Linked DNA regions of Homo sapiens: region 2 is linked to region 1. The links are contacts of gene promoters, found by promoter capture Hi-C in human tissues and cell types (Jung and others, 2019). All regions are on one chromosome and are shown on one strand. The core of a region is centred on a gene start or on the middle of the fragment in contact, and the rest is flanking DNA. Distances in the headings are between cores, read along the strand shown. Region 1 holds the start of ADAM33 (ADAM metallopeptidase domain 33). Region 2 overlaps RNF24 (ring finger protein 24).

Region 1 (5,389 bases), core at 1,899-4,398:
GCTTTACTGAAGAGGTGTCGCTGAGGGGCTGCTCTGGGGCGCTGCTCTGCTTTCCTGTCCCCAACTTGTTCTGAGCTCGAGCCACCTCCATACTGGTGCTCCTGGTTCTCAGGCCTTTGAACTCAAACTGAATCACACCACTGGCTTTCCTCGTTCTCCAGCTTGCAGATGGCAGATTCGGGAACTTTTTGGCCTCCATAATCACGTGAGCCAATTGCTATAATAAATATCTCTCTCCCTCTTTCTTCCTCTCTCTCTCTCTGTGCAAATATAGTTCCAATTATAAGAGCCCCTAACTGGAAAATAACCCTATGGTGCACTGGTGAGTAGAGAAACTGTGGTTCCCTCAAACCACCGAACACTATTCAGCAATACGAAGGAACAAACTATTGATATGCAAAATAGTGTAAATGAATCTCAAAAACATCGGAAAGAGGGAAGGAAGCCAGACACAGAAGAGTGCATGCCGCATGATTCCATTTATATGAAATTCTAGAACAGGCAAAACTTATCTATAGACAGAGAACAACAGATCAGTGGCTGTCTGGGGTTGGGAGTGGGCAAGTTTGGCTGGAAGGGCACAGGGCTCTTTCTGTGAGTGAGGGAATGTGTCTGCATTATAGTGATGCTTATGTAGTTATATACACTTATCGAAACTCATCTTACTGGCCACTTAAAATAAGTGCATTTTATTGTGTGTAAATTATACCTTAATGAAGTTGATTTGAAAATCCAAAGTAGTAATAATAAGTAATAATCTCGTAGCTGGACAGCTGTGGTGACTCACTCCTGTAATTCCAGCGATTTGAGAAGCTGAGGCAGGAGGATCACTTAAGATCAGGAGTTCTTTTTATTTTTATTTTTATTTTTTGAGACGGAGTTTCGCTCTTGTTGCCCAGGCTGGAGTGCAATGGCATGATCTCGGCTCGCTGCAACCTCCACCTTCTGAGTTCAAGCGATTTTCCTGCCTCAGCCTCCCAAGTAGCTGGAACTACAGGCACTCACCACCATGCCCGGCTAATTTTTGTATTTTTAGTAGAGATGGGGTTTCACCATGTTGGCCAGACTGGTCTTGAACTCCTGACCTCCAGTGATCTGCCCGCCTCGGCCTCCCAAAGTGCTGGGATTACAGGCATGAGACACTGCGCCTGGCCAAGACCAGGAGTTTGAGACCAGCCTGGGAAACAAAGTGAGACCCCCCTGTCTACAGAAAAATTAAAAATTTTAGCTGGGCCTGGTGCCGTGTGCCTGTAGTTCCAGCTACTCAGGAGGCTGAGGTGGGAGGATACCTTGAGCCCAGGATTTCAAGGCTGCAATGAGGCATGATCAGGCCACTGTCCTCTAGCGTGGGTGACAGAGTGAGACCCTGTCTCTAAATAATAATCATAAGAACAACAAGGACCCTCTAAACGCACTGATATCTAAGGTGTATTAAGCGACCAAAAAAAAAAAAAAGAAAATCAAAGTGCAGAAAAACGTTAATAAGAGAAAAAAATATGTCTGTATTGTCTTGAGTGTGAAAAAATAATCTAAAAGCCTATGAAAGAAACTAATCATATTGGTTTCCTGTTGGTGAGGAGGGCTAAGAGCACGGAGACTTTTCCCTATGCTTTCTGTACTTTTTGATTTTGAGATATGTGAATGTAGGTTTCTCTCACTGCTCGAACTTTCACTAACCAAATTACTACATTCCAAATTCTCAAAAACAAATAGATTTACTTAAAAGTAGGCTGGGTGCGGTGTCTCACGCCTGTAATTCCAGCGCTTTGGGAGGCCGAGGCGGGCAGATCACCTGAGGTCGGGAGTTCGAGACCAGCCTGACCAACATGGAGAAACCCCATCTCTACTAAAAATACAAAATTAGCCAGGCGTGGTGGCGAATGCCTGTAATCCCAGCTACTCGGGAGGCTGAGGCAGAAGAATCACTTGAATCTGGGAGGCAGAGGTTGCAGTGAGCCCAGATCATGCCATTGCACTCCAGTCTGGGTAACAAGAGAGAAACTCTGTCTCAAAAAAAAAAAAAAAAAAAAAAGATTTGCTTAAAAGTTAACATCTCCGGCCGGGCGCGGTGGCTCATGCCTGTAATCCCAGCGCTTTGAGAGGCCGAGGCGGGTGGATCACGAGATCAGGAGATTGAGACCATCCTGGCCAAAATGGTGAAACCTCGTCTCTGCTAAAAATACAAAAGTTAGCTGGGGGTGGTAGCGCGCGCCTGTAGTCCCAGCTACTCGGGAGGCTGAGGCAGGAGAATCGCTTGAACCAGGGAGTCGGAGGTTGCAGTGAGCCAAGATCGCGCCGCTGCACTCCAGCCTGGCGACAGAGGGAGACTCCATCTCAAAAAAAAAAAAAAAAAAAAAGTTAACATCTCATCCAAATTTGCACCGAGTAGGAAAACAAAAGTTTAAAACATGAAACAGATGTTACTGAGGCCGAAAGGGTCTCCCAGGCCTGGGAGTCTGCAGCTTTTATGCAATTCTGCCCTCTGGCCACCGCCAGGGAAGAAAGGTTGTCTCCGTCTGCTGCATCGCCTTTGCCCAGCAATGAAGCCCCCAAGACAGCGGCAGCCGGTTGCCTGAACCTTCCTATCCTTGGGGGCACCCAGTGCAGGTGGATGACCCGACTCAACCTCCGCCAGGGCACCCTCGGGGCAGGACGGGTAGCAAGGAGGGGACAGAGATCGGCCCCAGGAGACCACGGAAGATCGCGCTCCTGGGGCCAACTTCAGCAGCGAGAGGCGGCCTTTGCCCACCGCCTCATCCCACCACGCCGCGGTCCTCCAAGAACCTTCCCAGCGGTTCTCTCCTCCTCTCAGGAGTAGAGGCCCTCTGAGACCGACGGGGAGGGACGGCTCGGGCCGGTCATCCGAGGGGCCGCACGGATTCCCTCCTCCGCCCAGCTCCACCCCCTCGAGGGGCGGCGGTCCGGGAGTGGCGACCCGGCTCCCCCATGGCGCGCGCCGTCGGGGCCCCTGGCCAGGCTCCGAGCGGGGTTGGCGGGGAGGGGAGGCGGGAGCGAGGGCGGGCGGTGGGAGGTGGGGGCGGGAAGGTCCGAAGGCGGCGGCCTGAGGCTGCACCGGGCACGGGTCGGCCGCAATCCAGCCTGGGCGGAGCCGGAGTTGCGAGCCGCTGCCTAGAGGCCGAGGAGCTCACAGCTATGGGCTGGAGGCCCCGGAGAGCTCGGGGGACCCCGTTGCTGCTGCTGCTACTACTGCTGCTGCTCTGGCCAGTGCCAGGCGCCGGGGTGCTTCAAGGTGAGGACGCGGGCGGGGTGCGCCCTGAGGGGCAGGCTAGGCGCGGTGGTGGTGGCGGGGATGGGTTCTGCTCAGAGCTCGGGTCAGCGCGCGGAGGGTCTCACGGCCCCGGCACCATACGGCCAGTAGGTCAGGGCGTGGGGACTCTTTGGGGGGGTCTCCGTGGGACCTGCCCAGGGACGCTCAAGTGTGCTTGGGCTGGCCCCGGGCCCGGACTTGCCCACACTGCCCGGCTGCCACTCCGCTGGCAAAGCAGAGGGCATGGCTCCCTCCCCCTCGGGGGCAGCCCAGCCCCCAGCCCATAGCCGTAGCCCCCTCTTCCTGGATTCTCGCTCTCACAACCAGCTTCCATCCGCAGGCCACCGTGTGACCCGCTCCTGCTCCTCCACCCCTTAGGACTCAGCGGGGCTCCGTCCTCTAGGAAGCCCCCATGCCCAAGAGTCCCCCAGAGTCCCTGCTTTGCTCTCAGGCTGCAGAACTAGCTGTGGCCTCCACCCTGCTCACCCCTCGTCCCTCCTCCCAGGGCAGCAGGGCAGTGTGTATGTTGTTTATATTGTTGCCTTGTTTGGTGAGATAGAGAAGGGCCTCTCCAGATAGAAGGTGTCTGTTTAGCAGTGCTCTGGGAAGACTGCAGCTGTCTCCTCGGGGTAACCCCTCCAAACAAAGATGTTAAGATGGGGCTGGAACAACCTCTGCAAGCGGGTGGGAGGATTAGCCAGTCCTGCACAGCAAGTGCCTGGCCGGGAACAGGGAGGGCAACCAGGGAGGGGGCATGCGGGGCTGGGCTGTGCTATGCAGACTGGGCGGTGGCTTCCACAGCACTGTGTGGGGACCAAACAGGTACAGGGGCCTGGTCTGTTCTGGCCCCAGGGGAGGGCCCCAGGCGGTCCACTGCTCCCTCCCCTCTGAGCCCTATCCTGGGGTCAGGGGAGGTGATGGGACCCCTGGGAGAGGGGCGTCTATGTGCCCAATACCAGCCTGGCTCCCTCGGGTTCCACCCCCATTCACCCGGTCACCGGAGCTCCAGCTCCAGCTCCAGCTCTGCCCCTCTCTCCCTCATTGGGGTCAGGGTGCCCGTGGCCAGCACGTGCGCGCAAGGCCATGTGGACAGCACCCACACACCACACTGCACCCACACCACACCTGTGCCCGGGCCCACCCTACCTCTTCCCCAAACCCTTAGAGGCCTAGGAGCAGCAAAGCTTGGTTCTCTACTCTCAGTTAAGTGCTCTCTGGGCTGAGAGACCTCCCCTCCTTCCCCTCCCCCACATCCACTCAGAGCCCTCCCTGCACTGGCCCCTCTAGCCTCCTTTCCAAGGTGGCAGACTCCTCTCGGCCCTCATCTGCCTGATGGCAATTCACTCATCCAATCAAGGAGGGCTTCTTGGAGGAAGGGTCTTTGATGTTTGTAGTCTGGGAGAGAAGGTGGAGGAGAAAAAAGGAGTTGGGGTGGCCTAGCAGGAGCTGAGTCACTTCCACAGGCAGCCATCAGCCCAGCAGGACTGAGGCCAGGGCTGCGTGGAGGGGGGAGGCTGTCTGTTCTGGGAGCTGGGACTGGGTACCGGGGGAAGGAGGGCTGCTGCAGGCTCTGGGTGCCTGGGGCCTGGCTCCTGCAGGGCGGGCCTGTGAGAGTGGTTGGGGCCAGTGGAGGGCTGGGAGCATTCCAGGGGAACATTCCAGGCGCCCTCTGAGTAATGCTTGGCTCTGGGATTCCTCCTAGAGCCCCCTTAGGCACACCCGGCCAGGGAGCACCAAGGCTCCGTCCAGAAGCGTCCCCTCCCCTTGAAGAGATGAGGAGGGGCCTTCTGGGCCAGGGTACCAAAACCCTGCCACCAGGACAGAGTCCCCGAGGGAGCTCTGGGCAAGGTGGACCTCGCAAGGCAACATCTGGCTGTTGTTTTTCTCAGATGATGGGGGGGGCACAAGTGTCCTCTCTTCGTACATCTCTCACCCTAAAGGCATCTGCTGCCCATCTAAAAATCCCTAAGGCTGCCGCGCTCTTTCCTTCCCCTCTGCACTGGCGGCCTTGGCCTCTTCCTTGTGATCGCCGAGCCCAAGCCTGCCCCCCGACAAAGGTCAGGGGACTCCCGTGTCCCCAGCTGAGCTGTCCCTTTCCAGCCTTCTCTTTTCCTCCTCCTT
Region 2 (5,389 bases), core at 1,550-4,049, 330 kb before region 1:
TTAAAATCTGGATTGAAAATTAATGTGACTGTTTTGAAGACATTGTTCCATTAGCTTCCAGTGTCACTATTGAGAAGTCCAATGTCATTTTAATCCTCATTCCCTTTTTCTTCCCACTCTGAAAGATTTTAGGATCTTCAGTTTATCCCTGGTGTTCCTGACATTTCATGATGTACCTTGGAATAGATATTTTTCTTTACTTTTGCTTGTGGGGTAGATTGTATTTTCCAAAAAGGCTGTATATGTATGTGTGTGCATACTCCCCCCATCTCACCCAATATGCTATTCTTTGTGCCTCCATCAAGCAGTGGGGTCTTTGTTTCCTCCTCTTGAACCTGTGCAGACAGGAATTCTCCCCCGAACGTTTTGGATCTTGAGCATTGTGTTTTAAGAGCACAGCTGCAAGATCAAGAACATGCACCTGGCACTGCTAGGTGCCCAGCGCCATCAGGCCAGCATCTCCCTTCCCATTTTCCTTGTGACCACTGTTTAGGCATTGAGATTAAGCACTGTAGATGTGTATGTGTTCATTGAGAGAGGGGATTAAGTTTTTTTACTTTTAAATGAAATCAACAATGAAAATATCAATTGACATCAGAGAGAGTTTCTTTTAAGCAGTGAAATGAACCAACATGACGGCTGTCAGGTGCATTTTTTAAAAATCCACCTTAGGAAATGACAAAAAAAGAAATGACCAAAAAGAAACTAACTTGAGCTTCATGATTAAATATGTCATTATTAAATGTGACAAATATATTGTTTGCAAGAATTTCTGTGATGAGAAGATGGAAGCAAAAGGAGCTGCATAAATCACAGCTTCACAGAACATTGTCAGTATTTTTGTGTTTATCTCATGGATACATATTATTATTATTATTTTGAGATGGAGTCTCACTCTGTCACCTAGGCTGGAGTACAGTGGTGCAATCTCGGCTCACCACAACCTCTGCTTCCCGGGTTCAAGCAATTCTCCTGCCTCAGCCTCCCGAGTAGCTGGGACTACAGGCGTGCGCCACCATGTCCAGCTAATTTTTGTATTTCTGGTGGAGACGGGGTTTCACTATGTTGGTCAGGCTGGTCTCGAAATCCTGACCTCGTGATCTGCCTACCTCAGCCTCCCAAAGTGCTGGGATTGCAGGCATGAGCCACCGCATCTGGCCTTGTTTGTTTGTTTGTTTGTTTGTTTGTTTGTTTGTTTGTTTGTGACAGGGTCTCACTCTTTCACCCAGGCTGGAGTGCAGTGGCGTGATCTCGGCTCACTTCGACCTCTGCCTCCCAGGTTCAAGCGATTCTCCTGCCTCAGCCTCCCCAGTTGCTGGGATTACAGGTGCCCGCCACCATGCCTGGCTAATTTGGATACATATTTTTAAAACATCCTTTGTTTACTCTTTAAAAATTTTAAAATTAAAAACCCTTTTTTTTCTATTTATAGCTGCTTTATCATTCATTTGGCTTTTCCATGACACCACCCAAGTGGCTGGATATTACAAGAGAACTTCAGATTCATGACCAAAAATCCGAAGTAGACACTCAGCACTGCCCGGCAAAGCTACCATTGAATCTTAATAAGATCTTTTTGCCTATCACTATTTCATAACTTCTCTCCACTCCTTAAACTTATCAGCAACCCACCCCTCCTACTCAGATAAGCTGACCTCATAGTTCATTGAGGGTTTAGGAGATATCAGACAGAAACCACTCATCTTCCCCCCAACCAAATGTAGAAATCTGCCTTCCTTAGACCCATGTTTTCTGTCTCCTGTCGGAGGCAAGCTCCCCTTTCTACTGTGTTCCTCCTCACATCTTCTATACCTCATGCCCCCTCATATCTCACAGCTTTAGCATTTTTGCCCTCTCTCTTGCATCATCAGCAACTCTCCAGGGGGCTATCCATGTCAGCATACACATATGCCGTGACGTTGCCCATCTTTAAAATCAGAATAAGCTTCAGCAAACAACTTTTCCCTGACCCTCCTCTATCCCTTTCTATTTACCTACATGGTTAAGTCTCTCAAAAGAGAAGTTTACGTGCCTTCCCTACCTCCTCTATAGTACGTACCACCCTCTGAAATTCTGTTGTTTAATAATTTTTGTGTGACTTACCCCTAATAGAAGGTCAGCTCCAGGAAGGCAAGGACCTCATCTGTCCTGTTTACCACTCTGTCCCCTAGGACAGCAGGTGGCACAAGTGTCTACTCAGTACATGGGCAAAAGAGGCACAACTGACCTGGTAAAATAGCTTTTGATTTTTAAAAATTTCTAACAAGAGAATCCATGTTTTTTAATTACTCACCATTTTTTGCTACACTTAAGAATTGAAACAATTATGAAGAATATATTAATGATCAAATTTTGCCCTATGTTACATTTCATTCTTTCATAAGTATGACTTAATATTGGCAGTCTTGGGCCGGGCATGGTGGCTTATGCCTGTAATCCCAGCACTTTGGGAGGTCAAGGCGGGTGGATCATGAGGTCAGGAGTTCAAGACCAGCCTGGCCAAGATGGTGAAACCCCATCTTACTAAAAATACAACAAATTAGCCGGGTGTGGTGGCGGGTGCCTGTAATCCCAGTTACTCGGGAGGCTGAGACAGAGAATTGCTTGAACCTGGGAGGTGGAGGTTGCAGTGAGCCAAGATTGTGCCATTGCACTCCAGCCTGGGTGACAGAGCGAGACTCTGTCTCAAAAAAAAATATATATATATATAATATATATAAATAATATATATATAATATATAATATGTATAATATATATATTATATTATATTATATATTATACATATTATATATTATATATTATATATATTATACATATTATATATTATATATAATATATATATTATACATATTACATATATAATATATATATTATATATATAATATATATATTATACATATTACATGTATAATATATATATTATATATATAATATATATATATATTTGCAGTCTTGCACCTGGACTCTGGCATCAGACTGCTTGGAGTTGAATTCCAGCTCTTTCACTTTTTGCTATGTGACCTCCAGCAGGTTTCCTAACCTCTCTCTTTCTTCATTTGTAATGTGGTTAATAATAGTTCCTACCTCATGTGTTTGTTTTGTGTTCCAAATGAGATAATATGTAAAACACGAAACTCAGTACTCGTCTTGGGAGTAAACTCAATGAAAAATAATAGTAATTATTATAGCCTCCTCCAGTTTATAATATTTGACTCTGACTTGGTCTCTATAATATTTTTGTTCAAAATACTATATCTCCTAGGGTATATGGGCTATCAATATGATGATTCAGCTGTTCTTGGTTTTGTGGGGGGCGGGGGTGTGTTTGTTTTTAAGAGAGAGAGTCTTGTTCTGTCGCCCAGGCTGCAGTGCAGTGGTGTGATCTCCAACTCACTGCAGCCTTAACCTCCAGGGCTCAAACAATCCTCCCACCTCAACCTCCCAAGTAGCTGCGACCACAGGCACACACCAGCATGCCAGGCTAATTTTTTTTCTTTTTTTTTTTTTTTTTTTGTAGAGACAGGGTCTCACTATGTTGCCCAGGCTGGTCTCAAACTCCTGGGCTCAAGTGACCCTACCAGCACCTCCCAAAGTGCTAGGATTACAGGCAGGAGCCACCATGCCCAGCCAATAAATCATTTTGATCACTTGATAAAATATTTTTATTTCAAGCCAAGTCCTGTTCTTTGTTTATTTGGTTTTCTCAGAGGTGAGGTTCTTTCTTCATGTTATTCCACATTAAGTTTTCTTATTTCTGGAAATGGAGCTTTAAAAACACCCAATATATCATCAACAGATTTTTTTTTCTTTTGAAACAGCTATAAGACAATGTTCTTTTCATCTACTAGCTAGCTGGGAGGGTAAATATATGTAGCAGTACGAAGTATATTCTGAGGACCACATAAAAAATACAGACAGGCTCTGTAGAAGTTCAGGCTAGGGAGAGTCAGGTACTTCTAACCCTAAGGGATTCCTACAGCTTTTCTGCATGTTAAATAGTCTGTTTTAGCTTATTCTCTTATTACTTGTCTTGGTTTTTACTTTGAAAGTTTGCTTAATAATCATGGGAATATTTTAGATTTTAAAATACAAAATATACAAGCTAAACTTGAGAGCAGTTTTTAGTTGTAGAAACTGTTTCTTGAAGTAATTGACTTAGCGTTTGCTCTGCCTCTTTCTTTTCTTACCTAGGTAGGTAGTGGGGACTCCTTCAATTATCTGAGCAATTCAAATCTCAGAATGTAGTGTTGGGTAAATTGAGGGTTCTAAAAGAATGCCAGATGGTTTGAAAGGAACTGTGAGCATTCCAACTAGTGCAGTCCTTTGAAAGCCAGCTGGCAGAGCCTCCTGTGCTTTGGAGGTAGGAACCAGACACTTTGTTCCATGCCAGCTGGCCCAAGAATAGCTGGCCAGTGGCCTTGCTTTTGGCTGGCCACTCTTGGGAAAGCTGGCCTGGGCCCTCCATGTGCCCTAAGGATAGTCTGATACCAGAGAGTTGCACTGGCCCTCCATAGTACCCCAGGGAGTTGGAGAAAGCCTGCAGTGGCAAGGGAAAGGAAACTGCTATTTAGATAATGTTACAAGTGAACCTCGTGTTACAAATTTGCTCTGGAAATTTAATGTAATTTGAATTTTTATGGATTCACTACTGTTAGGTGTATTAAAGTTGCAATGAACTGTAGTGAATGTTTTTATATTGTAAGTAACTTCCAGGTTACCTGCTTTTAAAGTTCCTGTTTTTATTTGTCAACTTTTCTTAAAGTGAGGTTTGCCCGTTCCTTTTGTTGTCATCTTCTAAAGTTTTGATCATTTGAATTAGGAAAATTTTTCCATCTTGTTGTAAAGCTTGCTCCTGTGTAAACCATAGACTTTTTTTTTTTTTTGAGACAGAGACTTGCTCTGTCACCCAGGCTGGAGTGCAGTGGTGCTCTTTCTGCTCACCGCAACCTCTGCCTCCTGGGTTCAAGCGATTCTTCTGCCTCAGCCTCCCAAGTAGCTAGGATTACAGGCATGCGCCACCACACTCAGCTAATTTTTGTATTTTTAGTAGAGACAGGGTTTCACCATGTTGGCCAGGCTGGTCTTGACCTCAGGTGTTCTACCCGCCTCAGCCTCCTAGAGTGCGGGGATTACAAATGTGAGCCACCACACCTAGCCATAAACCATAGATTCTATAGAAGGTTAATTATGTATGTAGTCTTAGCTTGTCTCTCATTTTGATGGTACTTATGTTTTCCCGATTAGACAGGTGCTTGTATCAGATACAGTTCTTCACTTCCTTTAGCAGATTTAATATCATAATTGTTTAATTGACAGCAAAATAAGTGCAAATATCATACTGTAAGAATAATGAGCATTCAGTTCATTTGATGACAGTGTTTATTGAAT

Evidence for each region. Contacts are between HindIII fragments. The study calls those that stand out against the background at their distance.
Region 2: a contact is called between a fragment that was not itself captured here and the fragment with the promoter of ADAM33 in region 1, in 1 of the 25 tissues and cell types used here (dorsolateral prefrontal cortex).

The regions. Positions count from the first base shown.
Region 1 is chr20:3,679,769-3,685,157 of GRCh38, reverse strand. It overlaps ADAM33 (ADAM metallopeptidase domain 33), which reads left to right and starts at 3,148. Exons shown (of 22, transcript NM_025220.5): 1 at 3,148-3,250. The coding sequence starts at 3,154. RefSeq lists an enhancer at 2,830-3,723. The HindIII fragment of the contact is 20,528 bases long and covers 1-5,220 here.
Region 2 is chr20:4,005,864-4,011,252 of GRCh38, reverse strand. All of the region lies in intron 1 of RNF24 (ring finger protein 24), which reads left to right. Among named protein-coding and RNA genes, the nearest start is that of RNF24, 7.0 kb to the left of the region's middle. The HindIII fragment of the contact is 5,241 bases long and covers 179-5,389 here.